5 separate regions of the Homo sapiens genome follow, and all the other regions are linked to region 1. The links are contacts of gene promoters, found by promoter capture Hi-C in blood cells and fetal thymus (Javierre and others, 2016). All regions are on one chromosome and are shown on one strand. Each heading gives the region's core, a stretch centred on a gene start or on the middle of the fragment in contact. The rest is flanking DNA. Distances are from core to core; before and after follow the strand shown.

Region 1 (2,700 bases), core at 1-2,500:
CCTCCTGGCTTTGAATGTCCCGCACCTGGTCTTCTGCCTTCACTGAGCAGAGACGTCATTCCTGCGGCAAGTCCTAAGTTCCCGCTCCCCAGGGCTCCTCCACCAGGAATGTTCTTCCTTTCCCATCCTTCAAGGCTCAGCCTCCACTGACCTCCCCACCCTCCTCTCCTCCACATGCACAGGGAACTGGGTTGGCCTCTTACCATCCGACCCGTTCCCCGTGCTTCATGAGAAAGATGCAGCGACAGCTCATGGGGTCACCTGGCTTGACTGCCCGACCTGCTACGTCCCAGTTGAGTCACCGAGGGAAAATCACTCTACCTCTCGCAGCCTCATTGCCTCATCTGCGAAATGGGCACACCAGCCATTGTTTTGAATGACTGGGTGGAATCAAGGTGGTAAGACATAGAAACTGACACAGAATGGGTCCCATCAGGCTCTACACCCATGCCCGTCACCTCCCGACTCAGCCGCCCAGAATCGGGTGATTGACATGTTATGTTTGGCTTGAAACTGGCTTTCCTTCCCCAGCCCGCTACATTTTGGAGGCTGGTTTTCAAGATAGAGGGTCGTCTCAGCCACATCCCTGCTGCTGGGCCCCTAAGCTGTGCTGAACAAGAGACCCCAACCTCATTTCTGCCCAGCCTCACTGCATGAATCTTCTTTGCCTCAGTGTCCCCAATTGTGACTTGGGCACAGTCCTCCGAGCCCTCCCACTGTGACACTAGATGCAGCAGGCAGGGAACAGTCCCTCCTGGGCAGAGAAGGCACCCTGGTCCCAGCAGAAAACCAGGGCTGGAATTACCTTCTGTTTCGGCTTCTTTCTCAGAAATCCATTCCGTGTGCTGGGGGCAGTCTGATGGGCTTCTGGGGGTGGCAGCTGGGTTCAGCGTGGGGGTGACAGATGAGGGTCTGAGAAAGCAGGCAGAGGCCTGGGGTGAGAATCCACACCCAGCCCGAGTCACCAATCAGGCTGTCATAAGACCTGTCACTCTGATGACGGGCAGCTGGGCCTCCAGGCAGGTGTCCCACAGAGCAGCAGACAGAGGAAAGAGACGGCAAGGAAGGTACCAGGCGGCCGCAGCAGGGATGCACGGGCCGCAGACAGACAGACACAGCTGCGTGGCTGTCAGCCACACTCAGGGAGAGGCAGGCAGAGGGCCAGACGCCGAGCTTACGGTCACTCAGCAGAGAGACGCCAGTGGGTCTGTCTGAGGCCGCTGGCTGCCACCCAGCCGCATGTGCAGAGTGGGGAGGAAGAGGAGGATGTGGTGAGCCGCTCCCCGCCAGCCCCGCCCACCCGCAGCTGGGCTCCTCCTGGGAGGGAGTGAGAAAGAGGTGGGAGGGGGCCTGGCCCCACAGCAGGCACCCACTGTCACCAAAGGTCACCTGCAAGTAAGACATTTGGGGCCATCGGGGTGACACTTCCCTCTTAGGGACCTGTGACATCATCCCCACAGGCCTCTCAGTCATAACCCATGAGGCAGGCAGTGCCTCCTGGAGCCACCACATTGCACAGATATGGAAACTGAGGCCAGAGGTGTGAAGATGTGGCACAGTTTCACCCGTGGACCCAGAGTCCTCAGTGGCCGACTCCAGCCCCTCAGCACAGAGAGAAGGACCAGAACCTTGCCCAAGGTCCCACGGAAGCCCCTTTTTCAGACTTTGCAAACCAGCCTGTTTCTTATTCCTGAGCCTTACCTGCCTAATAGGGTCTGAGCTTGGGACCCTCTGCTCTGGCTTGACCCCCATGCCTCTCTGCCTCCATTTCCTTTGGATCCAGTCTCCTGCTGCAGAGCTCCAGGGAGCAGGACCCCTTGGGCACGTCACATCACCTCTCTGAATGCCTCACTTTGCCCATCTGTCAAATGGGGGCACCTAGCTATGAGGAAGAGGGCAGACATTAACACATGAGAATTCAAGAAGAAAATAGAGAAAAGAAATTCTCAAGAGAGTTTTCATCTTGCTAACATGCCAGAGGCCCATGAGAGGGTCAGATGTTTCTGGAAGACATTCAAGAAACCAGGAGACAAAATGTAACAAGCTTAATGCCTAGTGCAGTCTCCAAAGGAGAGCAAGAGAATTGCTACCACCACCACCGCTACCACCACCACCACTACCACTGCCATCACCACCACCTCGAATTACTTTGGTGCCTACATGATCTCACTTTATCCCACAAAGTGTGAGGCAGACAAGATTAGTCCCATTTTACAGATGGAGAGACTGAGGCCCAGAGGAGTGAAACGTCACACAAGCCAAGAAGAATTAGAGCTGGGATTTGAACCTGGGTGTGTTTGATTCCTAAGCTTATACCAGGCTGTGAAAACGGGGCCATACCAGGATGAAATGTCCCACAGTTGGGGGAGGCTATTTTATGCTGTTTTGATAACAAGATGCAATTTGTAGCTCTCCCTGCTGACTCATTTTTGGGAATCAACTTGCTGTTGACTTTCGTGACCACTCCAGAGAAAAAAGAGAAAGCGTCTTGCTATTCTTTCTTTCTTTTTTTTTCTAGCTGTTTTTGAGGAACTTGGTACAAATTCCCCTGTGGTTGATTTGAGGGATCCTGGCCCTGTAGAGCTCTTCCCAGCTACCGAAGTGTGTCGTGTTCTCTGGAGAACGAACCTTGGGAAGACACCAGCTTTTGTTTTTCTTTCTCTTGATCTTCGGGGTGAATTCTCTGATAACATGCACTGA
Region 2 (2,700 bases), core at 145-2,644, 180 kb after region 1:
ACGCCCATTGGTAAGCCCAGTACGTTCAGCCACTGCCAGCCCCGGCCGGCCTCACCTAAAGAGGGGTTTTTTGGAAACGTATGAGGTGGCTTGCAGAAATGACAGGAAGGCAGGACCAGTCTAGAATGGGAGACCTTGGAATAAGGGTCATGGATGTCAAGACAATTCTGTCACTGCGGGCGCTGCTGCCACAGGGGGTCGGCTCCAGCCTGTCTGAGCTCCTCCCGACACGCCCTCAAGATGCCGGTCCAGGGAGGAGCTGATGTACAGACCTTCCAGGACCGCATCCCTGGGGCAGAGGTCATTCTCCAGAATGCAGTCAGCTTGCCGTTCTGGAAGACGGGAAGATGGACGCCAGAAGGCAAAAAGCCAACTAGCAAATAATGCCTGCAGGAGGGGCCGGGGCAGCTCCGGACTGTCCCAGTTGTCCTGTGGTTCTGGCTGTTCATTCTTTGAGCTCGAGTCAGTCCTGGCTGGGGACTCAGGAAGCCTCTGGGCACTTGGCCACTGGGGACACCAGCCCTCCTGCTGCTTGTCTCTCTTGCCTCCAACCCCTGCATGATAACACCGACATGAACGTCCCACAACGCACACTAGCACTCACTCAAAACCCTCATGAGGAGTTCCAGATGCTGCGTGTCCTCACCCACAGGGCAGGACATTTCCCCTTTTCCCATTCCTCATCTGACAAGGGACATCTGCTTGAAGCCACCTGGCCAGGATACCACACGTTAATGAACGTGGCCTCCCGTGCCCAGCTTTCTGTCACGCTACACTACAGATGGGCCGTGGGGCTTGCCAGCTGGAGCGGCTAGGCACTGGGAGCTGGGGCCACAGTCCACCTGTCCTTCAGCTGGGGAAGGGGTTTGAGTTACACAGGCGGGCCAGGAGTCACAGCCCACTGTGGCCGGGCCGCCACCCCTCCTCACTAATGGCGAACCTAGTCATGAGGGCGTCCCTGTTTTATGCCTCGCTACTTTCAGGGGTGTTGACATCTGGTGTAAATTCTTCCTGTGAAAGATTAGGTAATTCACTATTAACCATGGCAGGGAATAAACAATGTCCTTGCAAACAGCTGCCCACGGAGCCAAGTGGACTCAGCTTCCAGATAGCTCTTGTGTTTGTCACTCCCCAGCACGCCCATGGCCCCTCGGCAGCCCACTCCCAGGATGAGTATCACGGCCTCTCCCTGCCAACAGCCAGCTTTCGAGAATGCAGATTCTGCTGTGTCTGCTCAAAGGCTGAGAACCCCAGGACCTACACGATAAAGTCAAATTCCTTGGCCTGGGTAGAGGGCATCAGGAGCTGGAGTTCAGCTGCCCACAGCCACTTTCCCATCCCCCTTCTAGTTACCCCAGGGTAGCTACCTCCTGGCCAACCAGAATCTTTCCTGGGGCTGCTTGATTTTTGGCTAAAAGACAAGCAGCTGAGCCAGTGGCAGGATGCTGGCAGGATGGCAGCTCAACCCTCAGGGCTCTTTTCCCCAGGCCTATCTTAGAAGCGGGGAAGAAAGAAGCCAAGGCTGGCATGTGGCTCACACCTGTAACCCCAGCACTTTGGGAGGCCAAGGTGGGAGGATTGCTTAAGCCCAGAAGTTCAAGACCAGCCTGGGCAACATAGCAAGATCCCATCTCTATTTAGTTTAAAAAACAAAAAACAGAGGGCTGGGGAAAATCTTAATGGCCAAAACATAAAACAAACCTGCGTGCACACAAACGAGACACAATTACAGAAAGCATAGAGCCTGGCTCTCCCCCTGGCCTCAAATCCCCCAGGTTTGAGAGTCATTACTTCTGGGGGATGGTGACTAGAAGGTGGTAGGAGGGAGGCTTCTAGGAGCTGGTGATGGTTCGGTGGTTTCTTCACTTGGGAGCCTGCTCCTGGGTGAGTGCGGGTGAAAAGTCATCCAGCAAGACCTTCGCACTTCTCTGCAGGCAGGTAGGTTATCCTTGAGCCATGGGGATGACAGAAAGCTCCCACTGCTCAGCAGGGGTCCCGGCTCCTGCGCAGGTCTCTACGGACTCTCTCCTGTGACCTGGGCAATGCCCAGCTCTCTCCAGTATTCAGGCTGTGGCGTCCAGCAGGCCGTTATGGGAAGGAAGGGCAAAAGGATCAGAGTAATTGGGATCAGTGACAGCGGCTAAGGTTCATGCAGCAGCAGGGGCTCGGCACCGCCTTCTCGGCCCTCGGCAGTGAGGACTGGCCTTGCCCTCTTTTCCATATGGGCACAGCGAAGTGGGGGATCCTGGCCAAGTCACCCAGCAGGTGCACAGCGCGGCCGGGTTTGAATCAGGTAGCCAACCTCAGAGCCCATGTTTCACCCCTGCCTGTGTGACCCACCCGTTTCCCAAAAACATTCGGCTTTCTGATGCCAGAGTCCCCATGCAGGCTGTCTGTCTGCAATGTCCTTCTGGGCTCTCCCCACCTTCCTCTGCCATGCACCCCTGGCCTGGAGTGTGCTCCTTCCTGGGCAGCCCCTGCTCTGTGCCTGTCCAGTGCTGGAGCTCAGCCCCCCAGGGCTGCCACTGGGCAGTGAAGGCTCTTCAGGACACAGGTTCAGTCCTGCTTGTCTCTATAGATTCCAGGACCCAGGAAATTAGTGAACAGATGAATGCTGTCTGCATGTCAGGCCCTTTCAGCTCCTATCCTGGCTACGACCACCAGAAGCTGACCGAGAAGCTCAAATCCAGAGCCCGCACG
Region 3 (2,758 bases), core at 228-2,727, 240 kb after region 1:
GTGCCATGGTTCCTGGCCGCCATCACCAATATTTTCACCAGCACCAATACAACCCTGCACAAGTCACGAACACTTTCTGAGTCTCTCCTGGGCTTTAGGCTAGTGTTAAATGCCAAAGATGAAAACATGCTGATGAAAGGGACTGTGATTTGTGTTTTCCGTCATTGCTATCATCAGCGATTACTGGGCTCTCTCATTCATGCCTTATTCACCACCATTCCCTGCCTAAACAGTTGCTTTGAGCAGAAGTGCATCCTGTAAAACGTGTGAGTTTCTCCAATATCAAAACACGCCCCAGAGCCCAGCTTTTGCCTTTCCCCTTCCCTTATCCCACAGGCAAATCCCACTCACCGTTCCCTTACTGGTTTTGGTTTGGTGTCACCAGAGAGTACATTTTCCCCTCTCTCCCATCCCTCTCCAGGCCTCTGCATGCCTGTCTTTGACCAACTTGTAACTGGGCTTTAAAGCTTCCCAGCCCCAATATGCTGATATAATTATGATCATATGTTAGGCGGGTTTTGTGAGCCTTAATTAAATGTCCCTTGGCTAAAAGAAGAAAATGGCAAAAATCTGCTTCCCATCGCCAAGGCTGTGCGGGGCCTCTGGAAACCCGTTGTCTTTTGGGTCTGGGTGGCGATTCTGAAGAAAACAACCTGTCCTCCCGGCCAGGCCACAGAGAGGAAAGAGAGGCTGAGCCTGGAGGCTTGAATCTGGCCCCAGATGACCGGTCAGAAGCAGGCAGATTTCAGCTCATTTCAAGAGCCTGTGGTTGGTGGAGTGGGTGGGCTTGGTGGGCTCCGGCGTCACCGTCTTGGTAATAGAATGAGCCCTTACACTAATGCCATTGATTGTAACTGTAATTAGCGGATTTAAGGGCCGAGGATTCAATAGCTCCACAGTCATTCTAACATGCCACGAGTGGGTTAACACTTGTCATTTCCACTGTTTCCTTGGCTTTCAAAGACAGGCAGCTGCTTTCCTTGAAGGGGCTTCATAGGGGCAGTGGGGAGATTTGGGTCCAAATCCTGGTTCTGTTCCTTGCTGTGTGATCTTGGCAAGCCCCTTCACCTGTCTGTGCCTCAGAAGGTGGAAAACAGAGATAATGGTAGTGAATACTGCCTAGAGCTGTGGTGTTGATGAAACACCTGCGTGCTTGGCACAAGGTAAGTGTGCAAGAAGTGTTTTCTGTTAACATTGTTAATTTTTTATTTTATTTTGTTTTTATCTTTTTTAGAGACACGGTCTTGCTCTGTTACCCAGGCTGGAGTGCAGTGGTGCAATCTTAGCTCACTGTAGCCTCAACCTCCTGGGCTCAAGTGATCCTCCCACCTCAGCCTCCTGAATAGCTGGGACTACAGGCATGTGCCATCTTGCCCACATTACTACCTCTTATCTCTGTTTCTCTCTGTCCACCCACACAGATATGCTTTCTCAGATTTTCTGTTCATGTGGGGACCATGTTTCAGAGCTCCCAAGGTTACAAGTTACTATGCCCAGGTAATTAAAAAATTCTTTTTGGTAGCAATGCGGGTCTCACTATGTTGTCCAGGTTTGTCTCCAACTCCTGGGCTTAAGTGATCTTCCCGCCTCAGCCTCCCAAAGTGCTGGGATTACAGGTGTGAGCCACTGTGTCTGGCCCATTATTAACTAATTAGTGCATCAAACAAATGTGTCAGAAATTCCAGTGGATTCTAAGTGGACATGGGCATGTTGGGATATCCCCAGAACACTAGTAGGTGTGGGCCTACCATCTGCGTTTGCAGGAGGACTGAGAAATATCCAGAAAGCAAAGGCCTTTAGGAGCAGCAAGAAGCAGGGCCTGGAGGAGGATAAGGCAAGTGAGGCATTCAGGGCACAACATTTAAGGAGACCCCACTCTCAGGAGCTGACCCTGCACTTTCACGAGCCTGAGAGTGAGGGCCTCCTTAAATTTTCCATTCTGGGCACCTCCTTGGTCTCACCCTGGCAAGAAAATGGACCTATCCAGCTTGTTCCAGTGATCAGAGCTGGGGCACAGAGTTTTATCATAAGACTCTGTTGCAGCCAGAAGTTACCACAATGATGTTGCAGACATTTGTAATGCAATGTGGTTATGTTGTTTCTTTTTTTCTTTCTTCCTTTTTTTTTTTGAAATGGGATCTTGCTATGTTGCCCAGGCTAGACTTGAACTCCTGGGCTCTAGCGATCCTCCTGCCTCAGCTGCCCGAGTAGCTGGGACTATAGGCATGCATTGCTGCTTCTGGCCAGTGTGGTTTCTTTTGAATAGCTATGAGAAGTCTCTTTATTTAGGAGCTCTGCCTCTCCATGTCAGAAGTCAGGAGTGCTGCTTTGTAGCTTTCCTTGCAGCAGGAGTACAGGACCCAGTTCTCAGGAACAGCGTGAGGAGGGGCCTGGCACTAGCAGTGGGCAGGATAGCTGTAGGGGCCTGGTTGCAGTATTCTTGCAGTGTAATTTGGGGACTTCTGGCTTTGTGGGGTCCAAGCTTGATTCTCTGGTTCTTCTGGAGACTTGATGAATGTCCTTTGATGAATGCCTTTGTGACCTAAAGCCGCCATAGTGGAGTCTGTTGCTGGCAACCAACGACTCTGACTAGGATATGGAGGTGTCTCACGAAAGTTAAGGCAGGAATATCCCTAAGTCTTAAGAAAGGCCTGGAGCTGGGAAGTGGAAAGGTATCAGCATGCCATTTCTCTCTCTTTTTTTGGGGTTGTGGTTGTTGCTGTTTCTTCATTCATCTTTCTTAGGTTGAAAATAAATT
Region 4 (2,700 bases), core at 48-2,547, 220 kb after region 1:
AAATCAGAAAGCTAGTACAGAAATTTCCCATATATCCTGCATCCAGTTTTCCCTATGATTACTATCTTAGATGGTATAGTGCATCTCCCACCATTAATGAACCAATATTGATACTTTTTTAAAATAACTAAAGCTCATACTTTATTCAAATTTCCTGAGTTGTTATCTCATGTCCTTTCTGTCTTCTGGGATCCCATCCAGAACACCACATTACCTTGGTGGCCATGTCTCCTTAGACTTCTCTTGGCAGTGAGAGTTTCTCAGACTTTCCTTGGTTTTCATACCTTGATGGTCTTGAGTACTAGGCAGGTATTTTGTAGCGAGTCCCTTGGCTGGGTTTTTCTGATGTTCTAATGGTTAGGCTGGGGTTATGCATTTTGGGGTGAAGTACCCTTCTCATCACATCATATCAAGGGTACATACTATCTGGCTGGGTGCAGTGGCTCACGCCTGTAATCCCAGCACTTTGGGAGGCCGAGGTGGGCAGATTACTTGAGGCCAGGAGTTCAAGACTCGCCCGGCCAACATGGTGAAACCCCATCTCTACTAAAAATACAAAAATCAGCCAGATGTGATGATGCACACCTGTAATCCCAGCTACTCAGGAGGCTGAGGCAGGGGAATCACTCGAAGCCAGGAGACAGAGGTTGCAGTGAGCCGAGATCATACCACTGCACTCCATCCTGGGCAACAGAGCGAGACTCCGTCTCAAAAAAAAAAAAAAGGGTACATACTATCAACATGACTTACCACTGTTGATGTTAGCCTTTTTAAAATTATTTTATTTTTAATTAAATTCTTTTTAACTTTTAAGTTTAGGTGTACATATGCAGGTTTGTTATATAGGTAAACGTGTGACGGGGATTTGTTGTGCAGATTATTTCATCACCCAGGTATTAAGCTTGGTACTCACTAGTTATTTTCTCTGATCTTCTCTCTCTTCCCCCTTTCCTCCCTCCAATAGGCTCCAGTGTGTGTTGTTTCCCTCTATGTATCCATGTGTTCTCATTATTTAGCTGACATAAAATTTTTTTTTAGTAGAGACAGGGTCTTACTATGTTGCCCAGGCTGGTCTTCCAACTCCTTGGCTCAAGTGTTCCTCCTGCCTCAGCCTCCTAAAGCGCTGAGGTTATAGGTGTGAGCCACTGCACCTGACTGATGTTATTTTCAGTCTCCTCAGGGGTGGAGGGTGGGGTATCTAAAAAATTACTTGGAATTATTCAGCATGGAAGATTTCTCCATTCTCTTTCCCATTTATTTATTTACGTAATCATTTATTAATGCCTGTATTGACTCATGGTTATTTATTTTACACTCTGGGTTATAATCCAAGACTACTTCTTTTTTTTTTTTTTCTTTGAGACAGTCTCGCGCTGTTGCCCAGGCTGGTGTGCAGTGGTGTGATCTCAGCTCACTGAAACCTCTGCCTCCCGGGTTCAAGTGATTCTTGTGCCTCAGCCCCCCTAGTAGCTGGGATTACAGGCATGCACCATCATGCCTGGCTAATTTTTATATTTTTGGTAGAGATGGGGTTTCACCTTGTTGGCCAGGCTGGTCTTGAACTCCTGACCTCAAGTGATCTCCCTGCCTTGGCCTTCCAAAGTGCTGGGATTACAGGCATGAGCCACCACGCCCAGCCAAGACTTATAATTTTGTTGTTTGAATTGTTCTAGCTTTGGCCATTGGAAGCTTCTTCACACTGGCACCTGTGGTGTGTGTGTGCATGTATGTGTGTACTTCCTTACTTTTTGATGCTACAATATGCTCCAGGCTCATCATGTATATTTCCTGCCCCAGTCCTGGAATCAGCCATTTTTTTCAAGAAGTCTGGTTTCTTTTATTGGAGAATGGTATCAGAAATCAAGATCTAGGCTTTAGGTGTGTTCATTACTCTTGGGGTATACTCTTGGGGTATATGACCTTTTAAAACATTGCCTTGAAAGTTATGGGGTTCTCTTCTGCCATAATCTCAGGCCCACTCAGAATCAAGGGGAGAGGATGCAGACTGCTCCTTCCCTTTTGAAGGAGGCCTGTCATTGTCACATTGCAAGAGCTTGTGAGATGGGATAGGTTGGTGTTGTCATCTTTGGATAATACCATCTGTCACACCAGTGATGTTGTTGTCCACCCAAGAATTCTTACTTTACGTAACACATCTTTCCTCCCTGTCTGGTTTCTGTTTTGCCTCAGAGACTTTCTTTCCATGGTTTAGTTTTTCCTGCAGGTAATTTTAGTTGATACAGGGACATACATTAAATAACATTGAGTCATATTGTGAAAGTAATTTCCTTTTCAATTCTCTCCTAATCCCTTCGCTGGAGTCAAGGAGAAGGTCTCAGCTTGGTGCTACAAATGTCTTTACCATGTTTATAACTCTTGCTAATTTCTTTTTTAATGTTCTGGCTCAGAGCAGTCTTACAGCACAGCATCCTAGGTGGAATTTAATTATATGGCTTTATGTGCTTTTGCAGTTACACTCTGCAGCAGAGACGTTTGCCACTTCCCAGGATGCATGTGCACCCCCACATCTCCCAGTCACCTGGGAGTTAGGCAGGGCCACGTGACGACTATTCTTGGCCCGTGGACTCTGGGTGGAAGATTTAAACGTCAGCGAGTGGCCCTCCAGCTCTGTCATCTCCTGTTCAGTGACCAAGGAGTCCAGGCGTTCTGAGAGGGCATTGCTTCCTGATGGCTTGGGTC
Region 5 (2,700 bases), core at 195-2,694, 250 kb after region 1:
CTATATTGTATTGTAAATGTTGTAAAGGACTAAAGGGCTCCAGAGAAGACCCTTTCCCTCTTAACTGTTGATCTTCACTTTAGATAAACTTCCCTTTCTGTAGTCCTAGCCACACAAAAGGCTGAGGTGGGAGGATTGCTTGAGCATGGGAGTTTGAGGCTGCAGTGAGCTATGATTGCACCACTGCACTCCAGCCTGGGTGACAGAGTAGGACCCTGTCTCAGTAAGAAGAAAAAAGAAACTTGTGACTTAGTGAGGATGCGTCCATTGGCCTAAGCTCACAAAAGTGGGATTGGAATCACACAAAGACCTCTTGGCTATCATTGTCTAAAGTGGACTGTCAAATACAGCCTCTTAAATTGGAAAGGAAAAGAAAACAAGCTGGATGGAAAAGAAAACAAACTATAAATAATACAATTGTTGTACCTCATGAACCAGCCTTGTATAGAAAATGTTATAATCCTACTAAATTTCTTTGTTTTCTGCCTGTATAAGCAAGATCTTAACTTTTCATCCTGAATCACTGAACCCAGTTCTTTGGAGTCTATGTTACTCAAATGACCATTCTCAGCTTTGTGCTTGAATAAACGCTTTTAAACTGGTTTTTGATCCTTTTGATTATTTCAGGTTGACACTGTCATGATCATGAATGGTTGCTATAGATTGAGTGTTAGTTCCTCCTTACCCCATTCATATGTTGAAGCCCTAACCCGCAAAGTGATGGGATTAGGAGGTGGGGCCTTTGGGAGGTAATTAGGTCATGAAGATGGAGCCCTCATTAATGAGGTTAGTGACCTTATAAGAAGAGTCATAAGGCTGGGCGTGGTGGCCCAGGCTGGGCACCGTGGCTCATGCCTGTAATCCCAGCACTTTGGGAGGCCGAGGCAGGCAGATCCTGAGGTCAGGAGTTTGAGACCAGCCTGGCCAGCATGGTGAAACCCCGTCTCTACTAAAAACACAAAAATTAGCCAGGCATGGTGGCGCGCACCTGTAGTCCCAGCTGCTTGGGAGGCTGAGGCAGGAGAATTGCTTGAACCCAGGAGGTGGAGGTTCAGTGAGCTGAGACTGTACCACTGCACTCCAGCCTGGGTGACAGAGCAAGACTCCGCCTCCAAAAAAAGTCATAAGAAAGGTGATGTATCTCTCTGCCATGTCAGAATTCAGTAAGAAGGTGGCTATCTGCAAACCAGGAAGAGAAGCCTCACCGGACACCAAATCTGTAGGCACATGGTTTTGGATTTGGCCACACAGCTGACACTGACCTTGATCTGAAACTTCTCAGTTTCAGAAGTGTGAGGACTAAATGTTGTTTGAGTCACCAGTCCATGGTATTTGTTATAGCAGCCTGAACTAAGACAATGGTAGAGTCAGGCTGTCTGGATTCCAATCCCACTTTAATGAGCTTAGGCCAATGGATACATCCTCACTGAGTCTCAGGTTTCTTTTTTCTTTTTATTGGGACAGGGTCTCACTCCATCACTGAAGCTGGAGTGCAGTGGTGTGATCACAGCTTACTGCAGCCTTGAACTCCTGTGCTCAAGCGATCCTCTCACCTCAGCCTCTTGAGTAACTGAGACTATAGGCATGTGATACCACACCCAGCTAATTTTTTATTTTTGGTGGAGATAGGTGTCTCACTATGTTGCCCACACTGGTCTGGAACTCCTGGCCTCAAGTTATCCTCCCGTCTCAGCCTTTAAAAGTGCTGGGATTACAGGCATGAGCCACTGTCTCCGGGCTTAAGTTTCTTATCTGTAGCATGAGAATGATACCACCCCATTCATAGGACTATTGTGAGGATTAAAAGAGATAAAGCATCCCTTAGTTGAGGACTTGGCACATAGTAAACATTTATTCAGTGAAACCAATATCATCACTGCTGGCTGTGTGATATTGGGCAAATTATTTTATGTCTCTGAGTCTTGGTTTTCTGTCTTTCAAATGGACAGACATCATATCACCTATCACTAACCACCTTGGGAATTTTTTTTTTTTTTGAGAGCTCTGTCACCCAGGCTGGAGTGCAGTGGTGCGATCTTGGCTTACTGCAAGCTCCGCCTCCCGGGTTCACGCCATTCTCCTGTCTCAGCCTCCCAAGTAGCTGGGACTACAGGTGCCTGCCACCATGCCCGGCTAATTTTTTGTATTTTTGGTACAGACTGGGTTTCACCATGTTAGCTAGGATGGTCTCAATCTCTTGACGTCGTGATCCACCGACCTCAGCCTCCCAAAGTGCTGGGATTACAGGTGTGAGCCACTGTGCCCGGTCTTTTTTTTTTTTTTTTTTTTTTTTTTGATACAGGGTCTCATTCTGTTGCCCAGGCTGGAGTGCAATGGCACGACTGTGGCTCACTGCAACCTCTGCTTCCCCAGCTCCAGGGATCCTCCTGCCTTTGCCTCTCAAGTAGCTGGGACTACCGGCATGCACCATGACACCTGGCTAATTTTTGTATTTTTTTGTAGAAATGGAGCTTTGCCATGTTGCCCAGGGTGGTCTGAAACTCCTGGGCTCAAGTGATCTGCCTGCCTTAGCCTCCCAGTGGGATGGTTTAAGGAGGAGAAGTGACAAGTGCCTTTAAGGCACTTAACACTGGGCCTCACACCTGGAAGTTGCCCTATAAGTGGCAAATATTGTTTTTTGTTATGAATATTATTATCACCTAATCAAGGTGGATTACTTGGGAGAGAGCTCCTGGGCTG

Evidence for each region. Contacts are between HindIII fragments. The CHiCAGO score rates a contact against its expected background, and 5 or more counts as called.
Region 2: a contact is called between a fragment that was not itself captured here and the fragment with the promoter of IL21R in region 1, in 13 of 17 cell types (non-activated CD4 T cells, activated CD4 T cells, total CD8 T cells and 10 more). The highest score is 19.6, in non-activated CD4 T cells.
Region 3: a fragment that was not itself captured here is called in contact with the fragment with the promoter of IL21R in region 1 in 15 of 17 cell types (non-activated CD4 T cells, total CD8 T cells, activated CD4 T cells and 12 more); the score reaches 24.8 in non-activated CD4 T cells.
Region 4: a contact is called between a fragment that was not itself captured here and the fragment with the promoter of IL21R in region 1, in 13 of 17 cell types (non-activated CD4 T cells, total CD8 T cells, activated CD4 T cells and 10 more). The highest score is 17.8, in non-activated CD4 T cells.
Region 5: a contact is called between a fragment that was not itself captured here and the fragment with the promoter of IL21R in region 1, in 15 of 17 cell types (non-activated CD4 T cells, activated CD4 T cells, neutrophils and 12 more). The highest score is 17.1, in non-activated CD4 T cells.

The regions. Positions count from the first base shown.
Region 1 is chr16:27,400,724-27,403,423 of GRCh38, reverse strand. It overlaps IL21R (interleukin 21 receptor), which reads right to left and starts at 1,250. Exons shown (of 9, transcript NM_181078.3): 1 at 806-1,250. RefSeq lists enhancers at 619-738, 631-1,173. The HindIII fragment of the contact is 2,346 bases long and covers 1-2,046 here.
Region 2 is chr16:27,220,682-27,223,381 of GRCh38, reverse strand. It overlaps KDM8 (lysine demethylase 8), which reads right to left. Exons shown (of 8, transcript NM_024773.3): 8 at 1,614-2,700. The coding sequence ends at 2,652. Among named protein-coding and RNA genes, the nearest start is that of KDM8, 19 kb to the right of the region's middle. RefSeq lists an enhancer at 302-987. The HindIII fragment of the contact is 8,324 bases long and covers 1-2,700 here.
Region 3 is chr16:27,165,033-27,167,790 of GRCh38, reverse strand. All of the region lies in intron 2 of LINC02129 (long intergenic non-protein coding RNA 2129), which reads left to right. Among named protein-coding and RNA genes, the nearest start is that of LINC02129, 10 kb to the left of the region's middle. The HindIII fragment of the contact is 2,015 bases long and covers 470-2,484 here.
Region 4 is chr16:27,185,313-27,188,012 of GRCh38, reverse strand. No RefSeq gene overlaps it. Among named protein-coding and RNA genes, the nearest start is that of LINC02129, 10 kb to the right of the region's middle. The HindIII fragment of the contact is 788 bases long and covers 904-1,691 here.
Region 5 is chr16:27,148,753-27,151,452 of GRCh38, reverse strand. It overlaps LOC105371155 (a long non-coding RNA gene), which reads left to right. Exons shown (of 3, transcript XR_950956.2): 3 at 1-143. Among named protein-coding and RNA genes, the nearest start is that of LINC02129, 26 kb to the left of the region's middle. The HindIII fragment of the contact is 7,033 bases long and covers 1-2,700 here.